3 separate regions of the Homo sapiens genome follow, and all the other regions are linked to region 2. Evidence: promoter capture Hi-C in human tissues and cell types (Jung and others, 2019). All regions are on one chromosome and are shown on one strand. The core of a region is centred on a gene start or on the middle of the fragment in contact, and the rest is flanking DNA. Distances in the headings are between cores, read along the strand shown. Region 1 has its middle 41 kb from the start of CYP11B2. Region 2 holds the start of GML (glycosylphosphatidylinositol anchored molecule like). Region 3 has its middle 14 kb from the start of CYP11B2.

Region 1 (4,200 bases), core at 543-3,042, 120 kb after region 2:
CAACATAGGAAAGGTGTCAGTTCTCTCCAACTTGACATACTTTTAATGCAATCCCTATCAAAAGCCCAGGAAAAGCTGTTCTTCGTATAGATGAGATTATTCTAAAACGTATATGAAAAGGCAAAGGAACTAGAATAGCTAAAATAACTTTTAAAAAATGGAAGGAATTGTTCTATCTAGTTTCAAGACTTACTATATAGCTACTGTAGTGAAGACTGTGGTCCTGGCAGAGGAACAGACCCATAGATGGATGGAACAGAACAGCGAGCCTAGAAACAGCCCCTCACAGTGCAGCCGGTGGATACTTGGCAGAGGTAAAAAGCAATTTAATGGAGGAAGGAGAGTCATATTAACAGCTGTACTGAAACAATCAGATATCCATAGGTAACCTCGACCTAAACTACTTATAGAAAAATTAACTCAAAATAGCTCCTAGATTTAAATGGGAAATGCTGAACTATTGAAATATTTGCAAACCACGTATCTGGCAAAGAGCTAATACCTAGAATGCAGCTCTGTCTTAATCTGTTTTCTGTTGTTTATAACAGAATACCTGAAACTGGGTAATTTATAAAGAAAAAGAATTCCTGTCCAGGTGCAGTGGCTCATGCCTGTAATCCCAGCAATTTGGGAGGCCGAGGCGGGTGGATCACCTGAGGTCAGGAGTTCGAGACCAGCCTGGCCAACATGGAGAAACCCCGTCTCTACTAAAAATACACAAATTAGCCGGGTGTGGTGGTGCACACCTGTAGTCCCAGCTACTCGGGAGGCTGAGGCAGGAGAATCACTTGAACCCGGGAGGCGGAGGTTGCAGTGAGCCGAGATCGTGCCATTGCACTCCAGCCTGCGCAACAAGAGCGAAACTCCATCTCAAAAAAAAAAAAAAGAATTCCTTTCTTAAGTTATGGAGGCTTCGATGTCTAAGGGTAAGGGGCCACATCTGGTGAGGGCCTTCTGGCTGGTGGGGACTCTCTATAGGGTCCCGAAGGAGTGCAGGGCATCCCAGGGAGGGCGAGGGCGCTGAGTGTGCTTCTGTGCTAGTTCAGTTTTCTCTTCCTCTTCTTATAAAGCCACCAGTCCCATTCCATGATAACTCACTAATTCATTAACCCATTAATCTAGTAATCCATTAACCCATGAATGGGTTAATCCATTCAAGAGAGCCTAGCCCTTGTGATCCAATCACCTCTTAAAGGCCCCCTGCTCTGTACTGCCTCAATGGAGATTACATGAGTTTTGGAGGGGACAAACATTGAAACCATAGCGAGCTCTATATTCTAGATACTAGCTCTTATATATACTCTCTAAACCCAAGAGAAAAAAAATCTCAATTCAATTAGAAAATTGTCAGAAAAAGAAACATGAAAAACTCTTCACTGAAGAGGAAATACAGAGAACAAGCCAATGAAGAGATGTCAACAGAATTAGCCATTAGGGAAAAAGGCAAATCAAAACTGCAATAAGATCCTACTACACACCTATCAGAATGGCTAAAATAAAATAGCGACCTCACCAAATGCTGGTGAAGAAGTGGAGAGGCTGGATGGCTCATTCGTCGCTGGTGGGAATGTGAAACGGTACAACTACTCTGGAAAACAGCTTGGCATTTTCTTTAAAAACAAAGTACATGAGCCAGGCGTGGTGGTTCACGCCTGTAATCCCAGCTCCTATTTAAGATAGAGTTGCTCTGGTTCATGCACCTCTGACATAGGAAGTTGCAAAGACTGTCCAGAGAGATCCCAGTTCCCCCAGTGGTTACATCTTCCATTCTATAGTAAAATGTGATAATCAGGAAATTGACATGATACAATGTGCTCGGAGTTCCAGGAACTCCACGCCTGTGTCATTCCTGCAGCCATCACCCCATTCAATATGCAGAGCCCTTCCATCACTGCAGACACCCTCCCTTGTGCTACACCTTTGTGGACATGGCTGCCCTCCTCGCACACCACTAACTCTTGGCAACTTCTCAACTGTCCTCCATCACTACAGTTTTGTCATGTTGGGAAGGTTACTTACATGGAGCCATAGTTTGTGGCATTTGAGATGGAGATTTTATGTCCTTGGGAGCTTGACCTTTTAACCATATGGCAGTACTTCCTTTTGGTCTCTGCCTTCGGGGAAGAGGAATTTTAGGATTCATGTCATAATTAGCTCTAAAAATCATATTAAACAGTTAAAAGCCTTTGCAAGATCAAAGTTAACTACTCAAGACTCCTTCTGGGAAAAGAACTGGATACTGCCTTGTGCTGTAGCTCAGTAGCCAAGGCTTTGCACTTTCACAGTGGCGGTTGGGGTTCAATTCCCCCATAAGAAATAAGTCATTTCTGGTTTAATATCTTGTCTATTCTCTTCTCCTCTGCAGAACGTCTTAAATTTTCCTTTCTCTAAGCACCTGGGTGGTTACCTTTGGTAAGTTCAAAAGCCAGAAATATCGGCCTTTTGGCATAAGAAATTCTAAAAGTGAGAGGTGACAGTGTGCTGGCAGTCTTCACAGCCCTCGCTGGCTCTCGGCGCCTCTTCCGCCTGGGCTCCCACTTTGGCGGCACTTGAGGAGCCCTTCAGCCCACCGCTGCACTGTGGGAGCCCCTTTCTGGGCTGGCCAAGGCCGAAGCTGACTCCCTCAGCTTGCAGGGAGGTGTGGAGGTGGAGGCGCGAGGGGAAACCGGGGCTGTGCAGCGCTTGCGGGCCAGCTGGAGTTCCGGGTGGGCGTGGGCTTGGCGGCCCCGCACTCGGAGCAGACGGCCGGCCCTGCCGGCCCTGGGCAGTGAGGGACTTGGCACCCGGGCCAGCGGCTGCGGAGGGTGTACTGGGTCCCCCAGCAGTGCTGGCCCCCCAGCGCTGCGCTCGATTTCTCCCCGGGCCTTAGCTGCCTTCCCGCAGGGCAAGCCTCGGGACCTGCAGCCCGCCATGCCTGAGCCTTCCCCCGCCTCTGTGGGCTCCTGTGCAGCCCAAGCCTCCCCGACGACTGCCGTCCCCTGCTCCACGGCGCCCAGTCCCATCGACCACCCAAAGGCTGAGGAGTGCAAGCGCACAGTGCGGGACTGGCAGGCAGCTGCACCTGCAGCCCCGGTGCGGGATCCACTGGGTGAAGCCAGCTGGGCTCCTGAGTCTGGTGGGGCCTTGGAGAACCTTTATGTCTAGCTCAGGGATTGTAAATACACCAATCGGCACTCTGTGTCTAGCTCAAGGTTTGTAACACACCAATCAGCACCCTGTGTTTAGCTCAAGGTTTGTGAATGCACCAATTGACACTCTGTATCTAGCTGCTCTGGTGGGGCCTTGGAGAGCCTTTATGTCTAGCTCAGGGATTGTAAATACACCAATCGGCACTCTGTATCTGGCTCAAGGTTTGTAAACACACCAATCAGCACCCTGTGTTTAGCTCAAGGTTTGTGAGTGCACCAATCAACACTCTGTATCTAGCTGCTCTGGTGGGGCCTTGGAGAACCTGTGTGTCCAAACTCTGTATCTAACTGATCTGATGGGGACGTGGAGAACCTTTGTATCTAGCTCAGGGATTGTAAACGAACCAATCAGCGCCCTGTCAAAACAGGCCACTCGGCTCTACCAATCAGCAGGACGTGGGTGGGGCCAGATAAGAGAATAAAAGCAGGCTGCCCGAGCCAGCAGTGGCAACCCGCTGGGGTCCCCTTCCACACTGTGGAAGCTTTGTTCTTTTGTTCTTTGCAATAAATCTTGCTATTGCTCACTCTTTGGGTCCACACTGCTTTTATGAGCTGTCACACTCACAGGGAAGGTCTGCAGCTTCACTCCTGAAGCCAGCGAGACCACGAGCCCACCAGGAGGAACGAACAACTCCAGACGCGCCGCCTTAAGAGCTGTAACACTCACCGTGAAGGTCTGCAGCTTCACTCCTGAGCCAGCGAGACCACCAAACCCACCAGAATGAAGAAACTCCGAACACATCCGAACATCAGAAGGGACAGACTCCAGATGCGCCACCTTAAGAGCTGTAACACTCACTGCGAGGGTCCGCGGCTTCATTCTTGAAGTCAGACCAAGAACCCACCAATTCCGGACACGGAAGGACTTTAATATTAAAGAGTGCTATGGTTAAAATCAGTTCAATTAAAAGTGGATATTCAAGCTCTAACAGCCTGGACTCCCTGGGAAAAACAGGAGGCACCAGAGAACCCTTTGCTGGCCCTGTTCTTCCAAGCGCTCCACCCTAAAGCT
Region 2 (4,420 bases), core at 1,682-4,181:
CTTACCCACCCCATGGGGAAAATTTGCCTATTATGAGGCAACTCTTCAAAACTTTACTTCTTCATTCTACGCACTGTCTCATAAAACAGGAGACACTTTAGAAACATTAAAACTCTCCCTTGATTCCTTTGCAGATATAATAATTGATGACAGATTAGCACGAGAGTATTATACTTATTGGTTGAACAAGGAGTATGCACTATAAGTAATAAAACCTGCTGCACTTACGTAAACACCTCAGGTCAAATAGAAGAAGATGAACGTAAAATATATGAGCGAGCTGCCCAGTTGCATAAATACAACCAAGGCTGTGATCCTAACTATAGCTGGTCAACAATAAAAAGCACCCTCCTGAGTCTCACTTGGTTTTTGCCCTTCCTAGGACCTTTGATATTTATCTCATTATTAGTAATCTTTCGCCTTTGCTTGTTTAACTTAATGGTAAAGTTTGTGTCTTCTAGATTACAACAATTCCACATAAAGATTATTCTGGCAACCCATCCCGTCTTCTGACCTTGGAAATAAAGACATCCTGCCTCAGGCCCCTTAGATCAGGCATCCAGAGATTTTTACACCTCCAATACTAGGCAAAGCATAAGCCCATAGAATCATCAGTCAGGCTGGAGTTAGAACGTATATGACTATGTGATCGTAAACCCCAGACACAAAAACCACTTGCAAGTGGTCATGAGTCATCCTCACCCTGGGAAGCGAACAGAAACCATCACTGGAGGGGGACATACCCTCCACTCAGACCCCCAGCCTCTGGTTTACTAATGACAAATACAGATATGCCACAGATAACCAGAGGCACAGAAGTGATTAAGCCCCCAGGAGCAAAGGCAGAAGAAACAAAGTCTCCAAGTTAGACTCCCAAGGAATTCCCATATAGGAATGATTGGAGGCAAATGTAAACATACAGCCTTGAAAAGTCAGGAAAAAATCAGGTCACTTCCACTTCTACATGGGATGCAGTAGGTTGTGGCTGCTCAGAATGTGACAACCGGGCAAATCAATCCACAGAGTTAAAAGTCACATTTGAAAGGCCCTTGGACAGATGTGGAAGCACCAAGGCCTGCATGAACTGAAATTCCGCAGAGGGCGAGCCCTTCCCAGGGTACCCTTTGTCATTGCAGATACATTTGTCACTTTGGGCACCAGCTGAAAGCCAGGCTGGCTACAGACAGGGACTCCGGTAGGGAATGCAAACCAGAGTGCCGTCTTGGCTCACGGGGAACCAAAGTGGCCCAGAATCTCCAGGTACCTAAAGATCAAGACAGTTTTCCCATGGAAGAGCCTCCAAGTGCTGTGGTGGGAGGGACCCTGGGGAGTCAGAGAAGGCCAAGTAGAATCCCCCCCAGTGTGGCAGATCCCAGGAGACAGAGTGCCCCTAGAAGGAGCCTGCCACAGTCATACCACTGGTCTCCATCATAAGCCAGTGGCCCCGATGGAACAGGTGTGTGGGATGAGGTTCAAGGGGAAAGTCAAAGCCTAGAAAGGGAAACCCGTCCGAGCTGAGGATTCGGTGTGAAAGGTGAGCATACAAATTGGGTCACCCTTGTCACACCCAACTAAGGCAGAGTGCCAGGTAGGGAGACCATTCAGCACTCAGGATAGAAAACATTGCTCCAAGAATGTACTTCTCTGAGGCCTGACTGCTGAAACTGTCTGCGGTAACCTGAAACCAGTTTTATCTGATGGCTACTGAGACCACCTGCTGCAACTCTAAGCCTCGGTTCACCCACTGCCGTCACTGATTCACTCATCAACCAGAGCTTGCCAGCTCCCCAAAATCCTACTAGTGCCAATGAAACTCAGACAGCAATATGTACTATTTCTCTTCTTTATAAAAAAGAGACATAGTTCCTTTTTTTTTGAGACAGAGACTTGATTTGTCCTGCAGGTTGGAGCACAATGGCACGATCTCGGCTCACTACAACCTCCACCTCCTGGGATCAAGGGATTCTCCTGCCTCAGCCTCCTGAGTAGCTGGGACTACAGGCACACACCACCACACCCAGCTAATTTTTGTATTTTTAGTAGAGACGGGGTTTCACCATGTTGATCACTCTGGTCTTGAACTCCTGACCTCAAATGATCTGCCCGCCTCAGCCTCCCAAAATGCTGGGATTACAGGTGTAAGCCACCGCGAATTTAAAAAAGCCTTTTCTTTGTTCTTTGGACATACTGAAGGCCAGCCAGTCTGCCCCCGTGCCCCTAATTGCAGTTATTTCCTCCCAAATAAAACATTTCAATTTCAGAAATTCACCTATTTTATATGACTTCGACAAGAGCCAAGCCACACTGTGTAGGAGATGCTCGGGTGAAGCCAGCTGTCCCTGGCCACACACAGCTTGAAGGCAAAATGGCAGGAGCTCAAGCGAAAGCCAGGCAGGTCTCCCCCTGAAACCTCTGCACAGGTGGGCGCTGGCGGGGCTGAAGGGCAAGGGCACCGCTCAAGCTGGCTTTGGTCAGGGTTAGGGACAGGGCCGGCTCCAGAGGCGACGGGGTCGCACCCTGAGCGGAGGGGCTCCCGGGGTCCCCAGGGGTTATGGTGATGGCGGGACCCCCTAGAGGGAGGGTCCAGGAACGAGGCAGGTGGACTGGGACCTTGAGGGCAGGGTGGGCCTGGGCGGTGCCAACAGGCTGCCGAGGGTGGCTGCTGTCCCGTTTCTCCAGCAGCCAGGGCCGTGCGCTTCTAGAACATTCCCCGTGGCTTTCCTAAAGGGAGCGTGGATGGAGCCAGGGTGTGCAGATTTCTGTGAGAAATATTTTCACCTGGGAGCCCCAAGGGGGACCCTGCCCACCTTTGAACACTGGCAGATGGGCTGGAGGCCTGGAGCCTGGGGACGGGGCTTTGAGGGTCCGGAAGGAGGGCGGGGCTGTGCGGCCGGCGGAGGCCCCCGAAAGTTCCAGAAAGCGGGTGGGGAGGTCGGCGCGGGAGGCTCAGATGGCTGGAGGCGGCGGGCACGCACACTGCGGGGCTCCGAGGGGCACAGGTCAGTTTCCTGAGGCGGGTCGGGACCCAGGCGTGAGACTGGAGTCTGCCCAGGGGCCCAGCTGAGGCAGCCTCCTCGTCAGCTGCTTGGGCCGCCAGGACGCCGCCGGGGGTGCGCCGCGCTTCCCTGGATGGGGTGCCCCCACTCCCCTCGGAGCCCCAGGGAGACCCCCCGAACTCAGCTCCTCTCAGGGGTGCCAGGGGGACCCCTCAAAACTCCACTCCCCGCAGGTTCCTGGGGAGACGCCCCCTGCTCCATTCCCCTCAGGGTCCCAGGGAGACCCCCTAATTCAGCTCCTCTCAGGGGTACTGGGGGACCTCTCGAGCTCCACTCCCATCAGGGTCCCAGGGAGACCCCCCAACTATGCTCAGGGGTCCCAGGGAGATGCCAGCACCCCAACTCCGCTTCCCTGGGGCCCCCCTCCCCTTACAGCTCAACTTCCCTCGAGAGTCTGGGGCTGGGGCTCCGTTCAGTTCTTGAGTCCCCTTCCCTCGGGGTGTCCCGGGGCCGCCCACCCCCACACTGTCTGTGATTCCCCAAGGCGCGGGTCTCGGGCCGCAGCCTGTTCCACGTTCTGCTGCTCGTTCTTTTCTGGCTCCTTGCTTTCGAAGGAGAGAAGGAGGCCTTCGTTTCCAGTCTTTTTGCCTTTTCTAATGGAGCCCTGCTTTTCCTTCCGTGTCCCTTCAGGCTACTTCTGCCAGGTTTCTATTTTTCATTCTTTATTATGACTTTGCCCAAAATATTCTTGACTTCTATTGAGAAGGATTTGGGGGTCTATTTCTTATTTGGAGGTGTGTTCTTAAGTTCCAAACAGATGAGGATTTTCCAGTTAATCCTTCTGGGGTGACTTATTGCTTAATGCCACCATAGTCAGAAAATGGACTCTCAGTGTCCGAAACTGCATTCGGCTCTGAAGTGTCTGTCCTTGTCACCTCTTGCAATGTTTTTTGCCTGGAAGCCTGCACTCGCCGACGCTGACGTAACTGTTTCTGCCTTTCAGTTCTACAGCCTCCTTTGCTTTGTGATATTGTCATATACTTTATTTCTATATATGTTATGAACTCAATATTTCTTGTAGTGGGTCTGCTGATAATAAGATATTCCTACTCTTTTTGTCTGAAGCCATCTTAAGCTTACCCTGTATTTGCCCCATGCATCTCTTCCGTTTCACGGTTCCTGAGTTGTCACCTTTGTGATAAACTGGTAATAGTAAGTAAACTGTTTTCTTGTGCTCTGTAAGCTGTTCTAGCAAATTATCTAGGAGGAGGTGGTCTTGGAAACCCTTGATTTATAACTGGGCAGTCAGAAGTACACGTGGCCCAGACTTGTGATTGGCATCTGAAGTGGGGGCATTAGGGTGGGACTGAGCCCTTCACCTGTGGGGTCTGCCCTGCTCAAGGCAGTGTCAGAATTGAATTGAA
Region 3 (4,365 bases), core at 560-3,059, 97 kb after region 2:
TCATAAATACTCAGGCCATCACCTGGGAGTGGGAGTGCGTGTGGCAACTTGTAGGAGCCTGGTCACAGCTCGTTCCCAGTCTATCATCATGGTTTGGGGATTCCATCGAAATCTATTCTCTTCTGCACAGTCCACCAAATCTTCAAACAAGCATTCATAAAGTGCTTCACTTTTTCCTGTCATTGAAACACAAATGAGGAGATAAAGTTCTAGAATTTTCAGATCCAACAGGGACTTGAATTGCATATAGTTGAAAGAAAACAGTGGGAACAGTTTTGAAAGTGCCGTCTTTAGTCGAAGTGAAGCATGCGCCAGTCTTTCTATGTCAGATTTAGTGGTAAATATAAGAAGTCTATCCTCTTCAACAGTCAAATCCCTAATCAATAATCTCTCACCATGCAGTGTGTTTGTGTCACTGGAGGAACCCCAGTGGCAAAGAGCAAACCTCCTTGGTTCCGAAGCTCGCTGAGCTTGTCGAATTCGCTTTATTCTCTGATGAAGCGCGTTTTTGTTTTGTTTTGTTTTTGAGACAGAGTCTCACTCTGTCGCCCAGGCTGGAGTGCAGTGGCACTATCTTGGCTCACCGCAACCTCCACCTCCCAGGTTCAAGCAATTCTCCTGCCTCAGGCTCCTGAGTAGCTGGGACTACAGGCACCTGCCACCATGCCCAGCTAATTACTTGTATTTTTAGTAGAGACGGGGTTTCACCGTGTTAACCAGGATGGTCTCCATCTCCTGACCTCGTGATCCACCGGCCTCGGCCTCCCAAAGTGCTGGGATTACAGGCGTGACCCACCGCGCCCAGCCCAAGGGCATTTTTTGAAGGCAAGCCTGGTGCTGTGTGTGAAGGGGCAGAAGTCAGGCCTGAATGGATAATGTGACTTGGGAGATTTCTTGTATTTTTCACCTGAGTTTTCACTTCTATTGTCTTCAAAACACTTGCTGCACTTGTATCTGGAGAGTGGTGGTGGTCTACGAATTTTGCAGATATATGCTGTCTATTTGAAGGTCTTATTATTGTTTGTTGCAATTAAGCAATTTTCTGCTTAATTGCAGTGCCAATAATAATTAGCTTTTAAACTATTATCTTTCACCATTAAGTAGCTTAATACACTTATTGCAGCCTTTTTGCAAAGGAATGATTCCACAGATCTCTTCCATTGTGTTGTAAGAAATACAGTAAGAAGGAACAGTATTCAACTTCCACAATACAAAGTCTGTATTAGTCAGGGTTCTCCAGAGAGACAGAACCAATAAGTTCTGGGTATGGATATATGAGAGGGGTTTATTAGGGGAACTGGTTCACATGATTACAGAGGCTGAGAAGTCGCATGGCAGGCTGTCTGCAAGCTGGAGACTGTGGGAAGCCAGTAGTGTGGCTCAAACCGAAAGCCTCAAGACCCATTGCGGGATGGGAGGGGACAGGTGTAACTCTCACTACAAAGTTGAAAACCTGAGAAGCCGGGGGCCACTGGTGTAAAAGTCCTGGACTCCAAAGGCTGGAGAGCCTGGGGTTCTGTGTTCAAGGCAGCAGAAGAGGTCTGTCCCAGCCCTCAGGGAGACAATTCACCTTCTGTATCTGTTCTCTCCAGGGCATCCGTGGATTAGCCGGTGCCCACCAACATTACAGCAGATCCTCCCCATACAAACCACTCAGACCCACATGCTGATCTCCTCTGGAAATGCCTCTCACACACACCCCGAATAATGTGTCACCAGGTTTCCAGGTATTTCTGAATCCAGTTGAGTTGACACTTAAAGTTAGGTCCACAAGTTCACCCCTTGTCAACTTGGCACCCATACCCGTCTCCTCCTGAAATCACAGTTAATTTCCAAAAAAAAGGGACAAGAACAAGGAAACAGTGCTGTCTAACATGGTGCAACTGTCCTGTGATTGGGATTCTTGGGATTTTAGATGTTAGAGATTTTAGACTTTAGGAGTTTAGATTATGGCATTCCGTCCTGTGTCTTTTGGGATTATGATCCAAACCCATGTAGACTGATCCCTTGTCCAGGTCCCTCCCTATTTGGGGCTCCTGAAGATGTGTTCTTTTGAGAGCCTGGAAATGCATCTTTGTATGTTTTTCAGTATTTATTGTTGCTGGAAGTGAAAGGATTTTCAGAGTTTCTGCTCCATAATTTTGCTAGAACCTGAAGACATTTCCTGGAGCTTTTTAAGTAGCGCACGGTGTCGGGCAGCTCTCCGCAGCCATAGGAGGGAAAGACAAGGCTGACTCCGTAGGTGTGTGGCCGCCTCATAATCATGGAAGTCAGGCCTCACTTTGCAAAAGAACGGTTCCAGCTTTCTTGCAGAAATCTGTATCTGTTTGCAAGAGGGGCCCTGGAATTGCTGGTTGTTGTTCTTCTGACCTCATGGACTGTTGGGCAATAGTGGCATTGTCTAAAAAATTCTAAATGGCTGAGTACACCCTTTCATTGATTCACCCAGCACGTCTTTATTGGGAACTTTCTACCAGTCAGGCGCTGTGCGATATGCTAATGAAAAAGAAAGTGTCTGCCCTCAGAGTGACTCCATTCTATAAGTCTAAACTATAGACATATGTGCTAACACATTTATTTCCCTAATTTTGATCATGTCAGAGTAGACACAGCATAATTGTCTTGTAATAAAAGAAGCACTAAGTTAAGGTGCACCCATTGAGTGGGACAGTGGACATCGGTAATAAACGTGGGTCTATCTGAATTAACCGAAAATGTTGCTTACCATGCATTAAGCAAAAGGACAAGTCAGAATCATATCTATAGAGACACACTTGCATGTTCTTGCAAATACCCCACACACACATACACAACAATGTCTACAAACCCGTGTTCTAGTAGGTGTTGAGCAGAACGTCAATAATAAAGATAAAAGCCTCTAGAAAGCAGGCTGGGCGTGATGGTTCACTCCTGGAATCCCAGCACTTTGGGAAGCTGAGGCAGGTGGATCACCTGAGGTCAGGAGCTCGAGACCAGCCTGGCCAACATGGTGAAACCTGTCGCTCCTAAAAATACAAAAATTAGCCGGGTGTGGTGGCAGGTGCCTGTAATCCCAGCCCTTGGGAGGCTGAGGCGGGAGGATCCCTTGAACCTGGGAGGTGGAGGTTGCAGTGAGCTGAGACTGTGCTACAAGAGCATGCTACAAGAGTGAAACTGTCTCAAACAAACAAACAAGAAAAGCCTCTGGAAAGCAAAGACAACCTATAAATTTGCCTTGACAGTACCATTCAGTGACAGAAGACAATGGAGTAATAATATATATGTAAAATGCAAACGGAACATTACTGTAAACACAGGATCTTAAATTCAGTTAAACGCTCATCCAAGAGAACAGGCTAAAGGAACTATTAATGAAAAAAATCAGTTTACTCATCACAGACCCTGCCCAAAAGAACTATTCAGAATTTGCTTCAAAGAAAGTGATCCAGAGATAAGATGAGGGATATAAAAAAGTGAGTGTGAGTTCAGAAGTTGACACAATTATGCTGATACATTTAATTAACAATTGACTATGGAGAGGCCAATAGCTCAAGAACTTCAAAATAGCCTATGGGCAATAACCCGTGGGTACTTAGCTTTGAAATACTTAGAACGTTCCAGATAGAATTCCCCTTTGATGTCTTTTCTTCGTCAGCATTCAGAACCAGACATTATACTGAGAAGCCCTTTTTATTTTTTATTTTTATTCTTTATCTTTTTGAGACAGAGCCTCACTCTGTCACCCAGACTGGAGTGCAGTGGTGTGGTCTACACTCGCTGCAACCTCTGCCTCCCGGGTTCAAGCGATTCTCCTGCCTCAGCTTCCTGAGTAGCTGGGATTACAGGCACCTGCCACCATGTCTGGCTAATTTTTGTAGAGATGGGGTTTCACCATGTTGGCCAGGCTGGTCTTGAACCCCTGACCTCAAGTGATCTGCCTGCGTCAGCCTCCCGAAGTGCTTGGATTACAGGCATGAGCCGCTGCGCCTGGCCAAGAAGCCCTTTTTAGTCTTTGGTACATGACCAAGGACCTCACTCCTCTAATTCACAGCTCAGGCAGCAGGGTGGACTGCCGAAGCTCTGCCTGTGAGATGCGAAGGTAAGCTCGGCGGTGGGTGCCACCTGCCGGGGAAGAGCCTGGTTTAACTCCTCTGGTCCTCAGGGTTTTTCCTTAATCGTAACATGGCCCTGGAGCAATTGTAACAGCAGCAGTAACAATACGTTATGAGGATATCAATAAGAAGCACAACTGAGCACTTACAGCTGGGCACCACGTTACACTTTATATCAAATACATATACATGACACTATGAGGCAGAACTGTGATCATCCCCATTTTATTGGTAAACAAATGAAGCCAAGAAAAAATCAGGGCCTTTGCCCAGG

The links. Contacts are between HindIII fragments. The study calls those that stand out against the background at their distance.
Region 1: a contact is called between a fragment that was not itself captured here and the fragment with the promoter of GML in region 2, in 2 of the 25 tissues and cell types used here (H1 embryonic stem cells and mesendoderm cells).
Region 3: a contact is called between a fragment that was not itself captured here and the fragment with the promoter of GML in region 2, in 3 of the 25 tissues and cell types used here (lymphoblastoid cells, mesendoderm cells and spleen).

What each region holds. Positions count from the first base shown.
Region 1 is chr8:142,956,834-142,961,033 of GRCh38, forward strand. No RefSeq gene overlaps it. Among named protein-coding and RNA genes, the nearest start is that of CYP11B2, 41 kb to the left of the region's middle. The HindIII fragment of the contact is 8,627 bases long and covers 1-4,200 here.
Region 2 is chr8:142,831,870-142,836,289 of GRCh38, forward strand. GML (glycosylphosphatidylinositol anchored molecule like) reads left to right here and starts at 2,932. Exons shown (of 4, transcript NM_002066.3): 1 at 2,932-2,999. The HindIII fragment of the contact is 25,891 bases long and covers 1-4,420 here.
Region 3 is chr8:142,929,761-142,934,125 of GRCh38, forward strand. No RefSeq gene overlaps it. Among named protein-coding and RNA genes, the nearest start is that of CYP11B2, 14 kb to the left of the region's middle. The HindIII fragment of the contact is 8,685 bases long and covers 1-4,365 here.